Regions from separate parts of the Homo sapiens genome. Here region 2 is linked to region 1. Evidence: promoter capture Hi-C in 16 types of primary human blood cells and fetal thymus (Javierre and others, 2016). All regions are on one chromosome and are shown on one strand. Each heading gives the region's core, a stretch centred on a gene start or on the middle of the fragment in contact. The rest is flanking DNA. Distances are from core to core; before and after follow the strand shown.

What was found. The method cuts DNA at HindIII sites, captures the fragments that hold promoters and counts their contacts. A CHiCAGO score of 5 or more calls a contact.
Region 2: a fragment that was not itself captured here is called in contact with the fragment with the promoter of PLEKHA1 in region 1 in 1 of 17 cell types (total CD4 T cells); the score reaches 6.3 in total CD4 T cells.

The regions. Positions count from the first base shown.
Region 1 is chr10:122,372,575-122,377,560 of GRCh38, forward strand. PLEKHA1 (pleckstrin homology domain containing A1) reads left to right here and starts at 2,134. Exons shown (of 12, transcript NM_001001974.4): 1 at 2,134-2,232. RefSeq lists silencers at 1,842-1,991, 2,132-2,241, 2,282-2,351, 2,372-2,531, 2,542-2,741. The HindIII fragment of the contact is 9,419 bases long and covers 1-4,986 here.
Region 2 is chr10:125,721,766-125,726,751 of GRCh38, forward strand. It overlaps EDRF1 (erythroid differentiation regulatory factor 1), which reads left to right. Exons shown (of 25, transcript NM_001202438.2): 3 at 1,303-1,369; 4 at 2,046-2,171; 5 at 3,553-3,677; 6 at 3,917-4,073. Among named protein-coding and RNA genes, the nearest start is that of EDRF1, 4.6 kb to the left of the region's middle. The HindIII fragment of the contact is 1,424 bases long and covers 2,317-3,740 here.

The DNA.
Region 1 (4,986 bases), core at 884-3,383:
ACCTTGGCCTCCCAAAGTGCTGGGATTACAAGCAGGAGCCATCACATTGGCCAAAGGAACAATTTCAAACCACTCATCAATGATGTCAAACAACATTTAGGAGAGAGATCCGGCGGGTCCAGCCTGGAGAGGGTGAGAGGCTCTTGGCCTAAGTGTTCTATTCTCAGGACCAGTATTTTCAGATCAAATAAAAGATGTGAATTTGACTTTGAATTTCAAATAAACAAATTTCCCATCTGGAATCTTCTAGGATTCTAGCACTGACAAGCTAGAGACTCCTTCCAGACCTTCTAGCCAGGGAAGGCAAACTCAAATGCCTACAGGGATAAGACAGGTGACACCTAGATTTTTATTTTTAAATGTTAACCACACATTCAGTTAAATCAACAAAAACCCACTGTGTGGACCAAAGGAAACAATCTGCTCTGGCTACTTTATAAACTATAGTGAGGCCAAACCCTTTCAACCATTATACAGATGAGGACCCCAAAAGGGACAGATGTCAGCAAGGCTGCATAGCTAAGGTTTCTCAAAAGATAACCAAAATATCACGTTGGATGAAAGGCAATTGAAAATGCTAAGTCTCAAAGAGGCAGTCAGAGAGCCGTTCTATGCAGTTTGCAAGATGTTTTCACCTCCATCAATTTATCAGACTCTGAGAACATTCTGCAAGGCAGGCAGGGTGGATGACACTCATTTACAGTCGAGGTCACTGAGGGTCAGAAGGGCAAAGTGTCACTCTCTGCATAAAGTCACATAGGTAAGTCTACACAGGAAAATCTAGGGCTGTTCTTCACTACACCTCTGATTCAGATAACAGGTAGGCTTCCTCTAAGATTTTAATAAAGACAAACTCAAAATCCTGTATGATGCCCCATGAAGAGAAACAAGTCAGGAGGCCAGGCTGAGCCCCCAGACTTCTAACCCAGTTCGCAAATAAAGAAAGTGGCAAAGTAGATAGATTCCAGCCTGTCACCAGGGTTGTGTCTTCTGTCCTAGCAGCTGTACAGCTTGTCTTACCACTGGACATTTGTTTCATGTACATTTTCACATAGGAAGGATATTCTAAAAGATGTTGATAAAGATTTTTTAAAGGGTTTGAAGGGGATAGGATGTGATCTAAGGTTGTGCAAGGAGAGGAAAGGAAGAAGCACACAAAAAGAACAAATATTTATTAAGAGCCTAGAGTGGCATGCGCTGTGAAAGGCGTGGCATGTAATTCTTTCCCAGTTCTTTGCCTGTCTGAATATTTCTCATTCTTCAGGTTTCAGCTCAGATATCACATCCTCAGAGAACTTGCCTTGCCACTCTCTCTGAAGAGCCTCCCCCCGTCCCCGCCACCGCTACTGTCTCTTGAACTTTCTCAGTCTGGCCATTCTATTAAAATCTGGAACGATTTTGCTAGTTTGCGGACGAGTTTCCCCCAAGCTGCAGGCTCCATAAGGGCAGTGACAGTGTCTCTTTCTCAGATGAATGCCGGGTTGCCTATCGCGTACTTGGCACACAGTTAAGTGCTCGAGAAATTGCTAAACACTCAACGAATATTTACCAGAATACATATTTATGCTCCACCGTTGCTGAAAGAATTTCGACTAACCCTTCTTTAAGTCTCTCTTACCCTCCTGTACTATTAACACCATTGTAAGTAGGCAGTGGAGCTACATTTGCAGGGAGAGAGAAGAGCGAAAAATTGGCGCGCAGAGCTGTAAAGCGTTTTTCTCCAGGTCACACCGCAGCCTGTAAATTTGTGACACTTGGACCGATTATGGGACAGCTTGCAAACAAATTATCTGCAAACTAACGAAGCCTATTTTTAAAGATCCCTGTTCCTCGCAGCTCTAGGCGATGACATCAGAGAACCCGGAGTTCTACCTCCGAGCCAAGCCCAGTGGTGGTCAAAAACTACGAATACCAGGAAGCACCGCGGCGCGGCGGCCCAGAGCTCCGCGCGCAGGCCTCCCCGGCGCGCCGAGGCCGCCGCCGCTGGAACCAGGAAGACGCCAGAAACTCGGCCCGCCACGCCGCAGGGACCCGCGCGGGGCCTGCCGGGACTCGTAGTCTCTGCGGGCTGGGAGCGCCCGCTCCGGAATCTCAGCCGCCGTCTGAGGGCTGAGGCAGCGTGGGGACGCGTGCGCAGTGCGCGGGCTGGCCGTCGCGGACGCCGCTCCGGGCAGCCGAGCCTCTGTGGGAGCCGGGGCCGCGGCGGCGCGGGTGCTCCGGGCCGAGGCCGCGGTAAAGTTTAGCTTGAAGAACGCGGCCGCGCTGGAGCAGGGGTGGTGGACGGGGCCAGGCGCGAGGTGGCGGCGGCTGCGGGGCTGCCGGGCTGCTGGAGCGCGGTTCCCGCTGTGGCGAGCGGGGAGGCGTCCGCAGAGGGGCGGTGGGTGCTGGTGAGTGCGGAGCCGGCGCCCCCTCTGCGCACGTCCGCGCCACGCGCCACAGCACCTGGAGGCCGCCGGGCCGGCTCACCTGCCCTGGCTTGGGGCAGCGGGAGGGGGCGGCGTCTTCTTCCCGTGGGTCCCCGATTGTTTTCCCGACGTCAGCCCTCAGCGGCGCCCGGCGGGGGAGGGCGGGAGGCCCGCGGCGGTCGCGGGGCCGACGAGCTCCTCGGCGTCTCCGCCCCCCGAGAAATCCCGCTCGGGGCGCGGTGCGCGCAGCTGCCCGGGGATTCCCGGTGGCGCCGGTCGGAGCGCCTCCCTCCAGGGCTGTGCCCGCGGGGCGCGCGTCCCCGGGCATCCTTTCCTGGTGTTTAATGCATTTTGGCTTCAGGACTTGCCGAGGCCGAAGCCGGCTCCGCCCTGGGCCCTGAAGTCGGGCGGTGTCCGCGATTTACCTCCGCACCTTCGGGGCAGGTGGCCAGAGGCAGCGTTGAAAGCGACTTGCCCAAGGTCACGCAGGTGGCACCGGGGAGGCGACCAGACCCAGGTCTTTCGACGCCGAGGCCAGCTGCCAACCGCAGAGCTTTGGGGCCGTCTTGAGTGGTTTGTGGTTTGTTTCAGATGCTTTCTATTGACCTCCTGGAAAGAGGGGAAAGTGTGTCATAATGAAAGCGGTCCTGTTGCTTATAGTGTTTACCGCCTTTGGTAGAATTCTGGTGAGGCTGTGCCCCCGCGCAGAGCATCTACCGTGGTCTGGGCGTATAAATAATGAAACTCCTTTGCTCTCTGGGGGCAGTACAAGAAGAGGTTCAAGGAACAAATAAATATCCAGGCAGTTTCTGCGTTTTCCTCGTCTGTTTGTTTCACCTTCCAATTCTGCAGTACTGGTTTTCTTATTTTACAATTGATCGTTGTTTTAATAAGATTTTCTTTGTTTTAATGAAGTCATTGCCCCTTGTGAGTTAGTTTTCTAAATAGAAAATCTTATTTCCTGTGTGTTTAATGACTGGAACAAATAGTGCACTATGAGGTTTACACCATTGTCTTTCATCTTAGAACTCCTGATCAATCTGCTTTATTTTCCCAAGTACTCAGCTTGCATACTTTCTATGTTAATTTGATGCCACTGAAACCATTTACAGCAAAGTTTGGGTAAGAGTTATGTGATTGTTTTGTGAAACTGTGTTTTTCTTCACAATCTGAAGAACTTGAAGACCCGTTATATTAAAATAATAAGATTTATTCTGATCAAAATACCTGTTTACTTTTCATGCTCTTAATTTTTCCTGTTGACACACTTGTGGCAAAAGAAATATTTCCCCTAGTGGAGTTAAAGTATTTTTTATCTTGGCCAATTTTCCCAAGGAAAATTGCATTTTAGAGTACTGATACATTTAAAAAAGAGTATTTAAGTTTGACAGAATTTGAATTAATAAAGTAGTTAATTTATTTTATACTGCCGTAAACCTTACACTGTATCTACTGACAGTTTTCTCTTGTAGCGTATACCTGTATCAAGATATATGGCTGTGAATTTAGTGACATTAAGAAGATATATATATATATATATATATATATATATATAATATAAATATATGTGTATACACACCGCGCGGGCGCGCGCAGAGCTTCCAATCTTTATCTTGTTAATTAGTATTTTCATTGTCGCTTTGGGAGGGGGGAAAGTAGCAGGTTTGTATCTTTTTTTCTCCCCAGTTTTAGCAGTGTAACAAAATAGGAAAGATGGTGTGTAAAATTGAGTTTGTCATAGACTAGGAGAGACAGTGAAACAGGATAAGTATACAATTGTGAGGAAACTGCCATGAGTTCATAAGCCGGAAGGACCTTTTTAGAAGTGTTTAAGGATGTTAAGAATAGCATTGGATTCTTTTCTTTAAAAGTCATTCAAGTATCGTTTGCTAACATATAGGATATGACAATATTGACCACTCCTAGGAAGATACTTGGGAAAGGTGGAAACATTTTACATTTTTATGGGGACTTCCCCCCACAAAAAACATTTAATGGAGATTTAAACAAAGTGGCTTTTTGACTTAAGCCTGGAAGTTCTTTATTATTATTAGTCATGCTGCAAATCCCGAAGTTATTTTAATTGTGTGATAATTTGTAACCCAGAATGAAATCTAATAAATAGTTTATTAATATAATTTAAGTCATACTTTGACATTGACATATTGCTTGATGTCAAGTCATTATTGTTTAAATAACTTATTTGAGAATGGGGAAGATAGTTTTCTGAATATAGTGTAGTAATTATTTGTGACAATAGTAACATTGCTTTTATTAGAAAATTTTGGGTTGATATAACTAACTGCCTTAAAGTATTTCCTATTTGATTCCAACTGTGAGCTGAGGTAATATGCAAATAATTACTTTTCTCATGCTGGAGCAGTTTACTTTTGTTAATATTAAAATTTAAATTTCAAGATTAAAAAATCTTGTTTTAGATCTGCAATGATACAATAAAATGACTTCAATAGGAGTTAAATATTAAGATTTGGTTTTAGGTTTTTTGACCATTTGTGAGTACACATCCAGCATTTAAGAATTTATTGACATGGTGTCTGAAAGGAATGCTTTCAGAAAGGGC
Region 2 (4,986 bases), core at 1,779-4,278, 3.4 Mb after region 1:
TTCCTTCATCTTTCCTGTGGAGTTTTTCATTAAATGGTGGCAGGTTGATCTGGAAAAGCCAGATTTAAAAACCCAGCATGTTGGGTGACCTACACCTTGACTTTGACACCAGAACTGATGGTGTTCAAAGTTGAGAGAGTAGCCTGAGGTCTTATAGAGAAAAATGTATTAATGTACATACTGTAGGACATTTAATGTGTAGGGTTCTCTTTTCTTCTTCCCCCTTCTCAGCAACTCAATCTAAAATATTTCCATGTAACTTGTAGCAAGAGGCACAAATACACTAATACTTTATGAGCTGGTATTTTGGAAATTATCCTAAAGCCTCAGAAAATAAAAGTTATATTTGCAAAAATGCTGTTTGTTTGTAGCATCATTTATAGGAGCAAAAAGTTGGGAATAACCCAAATATCATTTTTTAAAAGAATGGCTTAATCAGTTGTGATTTGTCAACATAATTAAATGTTGTGAGGAAATTTGAATAATTATATTGACTCTATACAAATGCTGTGGCAAGTATTTATATGCTTATCTCATTTAATTCTCACAACAACTCTTTGAGATAGGCACTGTTAATTATATTGCACCTGAGAAAACGGAAGCTGAGAAGAGCTAAATAATTTGGCTCAAGCATACAGTAAATCACAAAGCATGCTTTGCTGTTAGGTAGTCCTTGGTAAGTGTCCTGACTCTGCCATTTAGTAGTTGGAACATGGTGATGTCGGGTACCTTTCAGGCTTATAGACTATAGATGTGCTTCAGGTGGTACGTGGCATCAGTTGGCTGCTCAATTAACATTTTTTTTTAATTTCCTTTTGTGGCTGAATTGGTGTCAGGTACATTTTTTTCATGTATTTTTTTAAGAGGTATTGTATATCACTAGAAACACAATCTCAGAAAGTAAAATCCTGATAAATGTTTCTGTTTCTGTTTTTCTTATCTCTCCACCTAAAAAGAATAAAGTTTTGAACTATTTTCCCTTGGAGACTTTGAGTTTTGTGATTACAAAAATAAAGAATAATTGTTTTTATTCTAAATATTTCCTACTGGATGCTTCTAATGATTATTACCATGTTTTATCAAATCTAAGATGCCATTGACTTTAAGACACACCATTATTTTAGTACCACTAAGAAAAAAAAACTTGCCAACTGTGATGGTGATACACATCCTGGTTTCAGAGTTGTTAAAATGTGGAAAATGTGTATCCTAGAAGCAATGAGCTACAGTATTGTTATTAAGCTCTACTTGCATGATTATGAGCATGACCTCATAACCTGTGTCCTTTTTTCTCTTTGGTAGCTTTGGCATGGCATATGACTTTATTGATTCAGTGGGAAATGATGTGGATGTTGTCTCTGACTCTGAAGTAAGTGTTATTTGTCGCTTAATGTAATTTTGGAGGTGTTTTGTGATAGGTGTTTTATATCATGCTGTGTTTTGCATAATATAAATGTGCAAGTCTTGAGAAATTAGTGATGAAATAAGATAAAACTTACCTGATTATTGAGTATCTTTTTTGTTGTTAAAGTATCATTGTTTACCACATTTGTATTTAAAGAGGAAGGAATAATCAATCCCCAAACACTGGCAGTGGTAATAATATATTGATGGTTATATTTTAATGATAGTAATTGAAACTGATAATAGTGTTTGGGATTATTCTGTATATGTTACCAGTTGAGTTACAAATGATATTTCTAGTAAAATCTATTGGATCCTTAGTGGCTTTGATCTGATATGCTAAAAGCCTGGGTCAGCATAACAGTGTGACGTATACACCCTTAACTTTAAGAAATCCTATCATGTAAAAATAAATGTTTGACTGTCACTAACATAATGTGACTCATAAAGTGTACGTGATTCTGGTTTGAAAGCTCCGTCCTCTGTGTGTTTGCATGTAGCTTTTTGTTTAAAGTTCTATTTGTATAACCTTAAGGAAATAAGGTTTATTATGCTTTAAAATGAATGAAGCTAAAATTTAAAAGATTCCAAATCACACTAAAACAGTCTTTCTAAACTATTTTTTCTCTTAATTTTTTAAGAACATAAAAAAACTCCTGAAAATTCCCTACAGCAAGTCGCACGTGAGCATGGCAGTACACCGCATAGGAAGGACTCTCTTACTAGATGAGCTAGATATTCAAGAACTCTTTATGAGATCGTCTCAGGTAATGCTTTTGTGAAAAAATCCAACAAAACATTAACAGCTTAAGAGCACTAGAAATACGATTTTGTTTCAGAGAATGGCCAAAGTGGAAATGTAGTTGAGTACTTCAACAATCGAGAAATTGAAAGTTTCACTGAAGATAGAAAAGCTTGAATGAAGAAAAAAGAAGAGAATGAGAATGGTGAAGAAAATTATTTTATTGATTCCAACAGCCAGATTCTTTTTTACAAGAAAAAAGATGAAGCCAATGAAGAAAGTTGTGAAAAAAACTGTGAAATTTAAGGGACTAGTTTAATATTTTTAAGAATCCTTTAACGTCTCCCTTAAACAGATTCTCAGGAAACACAGCTACTGGAAAATGTGAAAAATATTAGAAGCTGTTCCTATGAATAAATACAGTCATGTTCCCATAATGACGTTTCAGTCAGCGATGGACTGCATATACCGGTGGTCCCATAAGATTATAATATACTGTATTTTTACTGTATTTGCAGTGTTCAGATACACAAATACTTCAGTCACATGTACAGATTTGTAGCCTGGGAGCAATAGGCTATACCGTATGACCTAGGTAGGGAGTAGGCTGTACCATCCAGGTTTCTATAAGTAACACTCTGCGATGTTCACACCAGGACAAAATCACCTAATGACGCGCTTCTCAGAATATATCCCCATTGTTAAATGACACATGGCTGTAGTTATTAGAATTAATTGATGCTCTTTAGCCTAGATTCTCAAATTGTATGTTGGTAAGGACTGTTTTTCCCACATGTTGAGAATGGATACTTTTGAAAAACATAATAACATTGTTGCAGTTTCTCAAGAACTACCCTCCATATCTGTACTTTTCTTGGGCTGGCAAGAAATAGTTCATGGTCAGTCTTTAAAGAATATTACTACAGTGCTTTGATAAAGAAAATTAAATTATGGTGAGGTAAATGACATTTAAAATAAGTGCTTTTTTCCTTTGAAAAGACCACCGTTTAGTTCATCATGTGAGTATGAGCCTAGGCACGGGGATGTGACAGTGAACAAATCACAGGCCTTGCTCCTCAGCAGTTCATTGTTTGGGGTTATAAACACATACACAGATCATTTCAATATAGTGTGCAAAGTGGGAACTACTGCAGCTGCTAAGGAACATGTTATAGAGAAGACTCACCTCTCCCAGCCTGGCTTAGGAGGAGGAAGACGGGTTTCCTTTAGGAAACAAAAAACAAAAGAAAGGTGGTATGAATTGACCCAGAAAGATATGTTTTTAATGAGTATGTGTTTATGAAACTATTCAAAAAATAATAGGAGCCTTTTCTGTAAGCTAGTACTAGGTAACATTGTTTCGACTATGTGTGTTGTATTAATAATATGTATCTCATGTTATCCAGACTGGTGACTGGACATGGTTGAAAGAGTTTTATCAAAGACTCATTGATCAGAAGTGGCAGAGGAAGAAAAAGAGCAAAGAGCACTGGTATCAAAAGGCAATTCTTTCCAAGTTTTTATATTACAGGTACTTGGCTACTTATTTATCTCTAAAGAGAAAAAGGGAATTCTGATCTAAAATTTAGTGTGAAGCTTAATGAAGTTATAATTTAAGTTTTGCCCCTGTGATACTGTTAACATTTGTTTCATATTTCTTTTTTACAAGATGTATGCTTAATTACAGATTGTAGTTTTTATAAACGGGTAGACTGTTGCATGAAGTTAACTTTAGTAACAGCAATCCTTTTTTATTTCTGGTTTGGCCAGTATCAATGGTGATGGAGCCGCTCAGCCTGTCTCATCCACCGCAGAACAGCAGGAATCGTCCAGTTCAGATCAGACAAATGATTCGGAAGGGGCTTCATGGCCTGCTCCCTTCGAAATGCCTTCTTCAGTTTCTGAAGATCCCAGTGCTTCCAGTCAGGTTAGTACTTAAATGCTAATTCTAGAAACTCACATAGGAAAACAAAGCCTTTTTTAACATCTCGTTAAAAAAAAAAAAAGATGAACAGGACTAAGAAATATTCTGTCAGCTTATGGAATGGGGGAAAAAAGACTTCTGTCAATTTATGGAATTGGAGAAATACTTTTTAGTTTTTCGCAATAGAATTTACAAGAGCTATTATAGGTGGGGAGATCAGATTTTTTTATTAAATCGAAATATAATAGTTGACTGATATGTTTATTAATACTGATTATCTCCTTCAAGTGATGAGTATTATATAGAGATATAGTATATTTTAATTATAAATACTAGTCATTTTTAACTATAAATACTATTTTAACTATAAATATCTGTCAATATTTGATAGACATTTCCTACCAAATATTGAGACTCAGAGACCCATTTGTAATTTAAGTTCTAACCTTTTTACCATAACTTTCAGTCAGATTGTTAGACCTAAAATATCCCTTTAAGGTTTTCCAGATAAAATTCCTGAAACTTAGTCCACATTCATGTTATAAAAGTTTTAGAAAAGAGAATGAACTAGGTTGTCCATTTTATCTCTTACATCCTTGTTTCTTCCTAATGCTTGTTTATTTTTGTACTTACTGTATCTATCAAAGAATAAAATAAAGCCATAGATGTAAATTGTGACATGTCTATTTTCAGGAAAATAGATTGATAAATAGATAATAAGATCTGTGACTTGATAAGTTACGTCTTCCCTCTTGCTGTTGTGTTCCCACATATTGAGCACTATTCAACCAGATTGTTTCAATCTTCACAAATTACAGGGAGCAGATACATTTAACTCGATTTTAGTTTCAGTAGGTTTAAGATAGAGAAAGCATCCCATAAAACTCCATAATGAATTTAAATTTCTTTCAAAAGT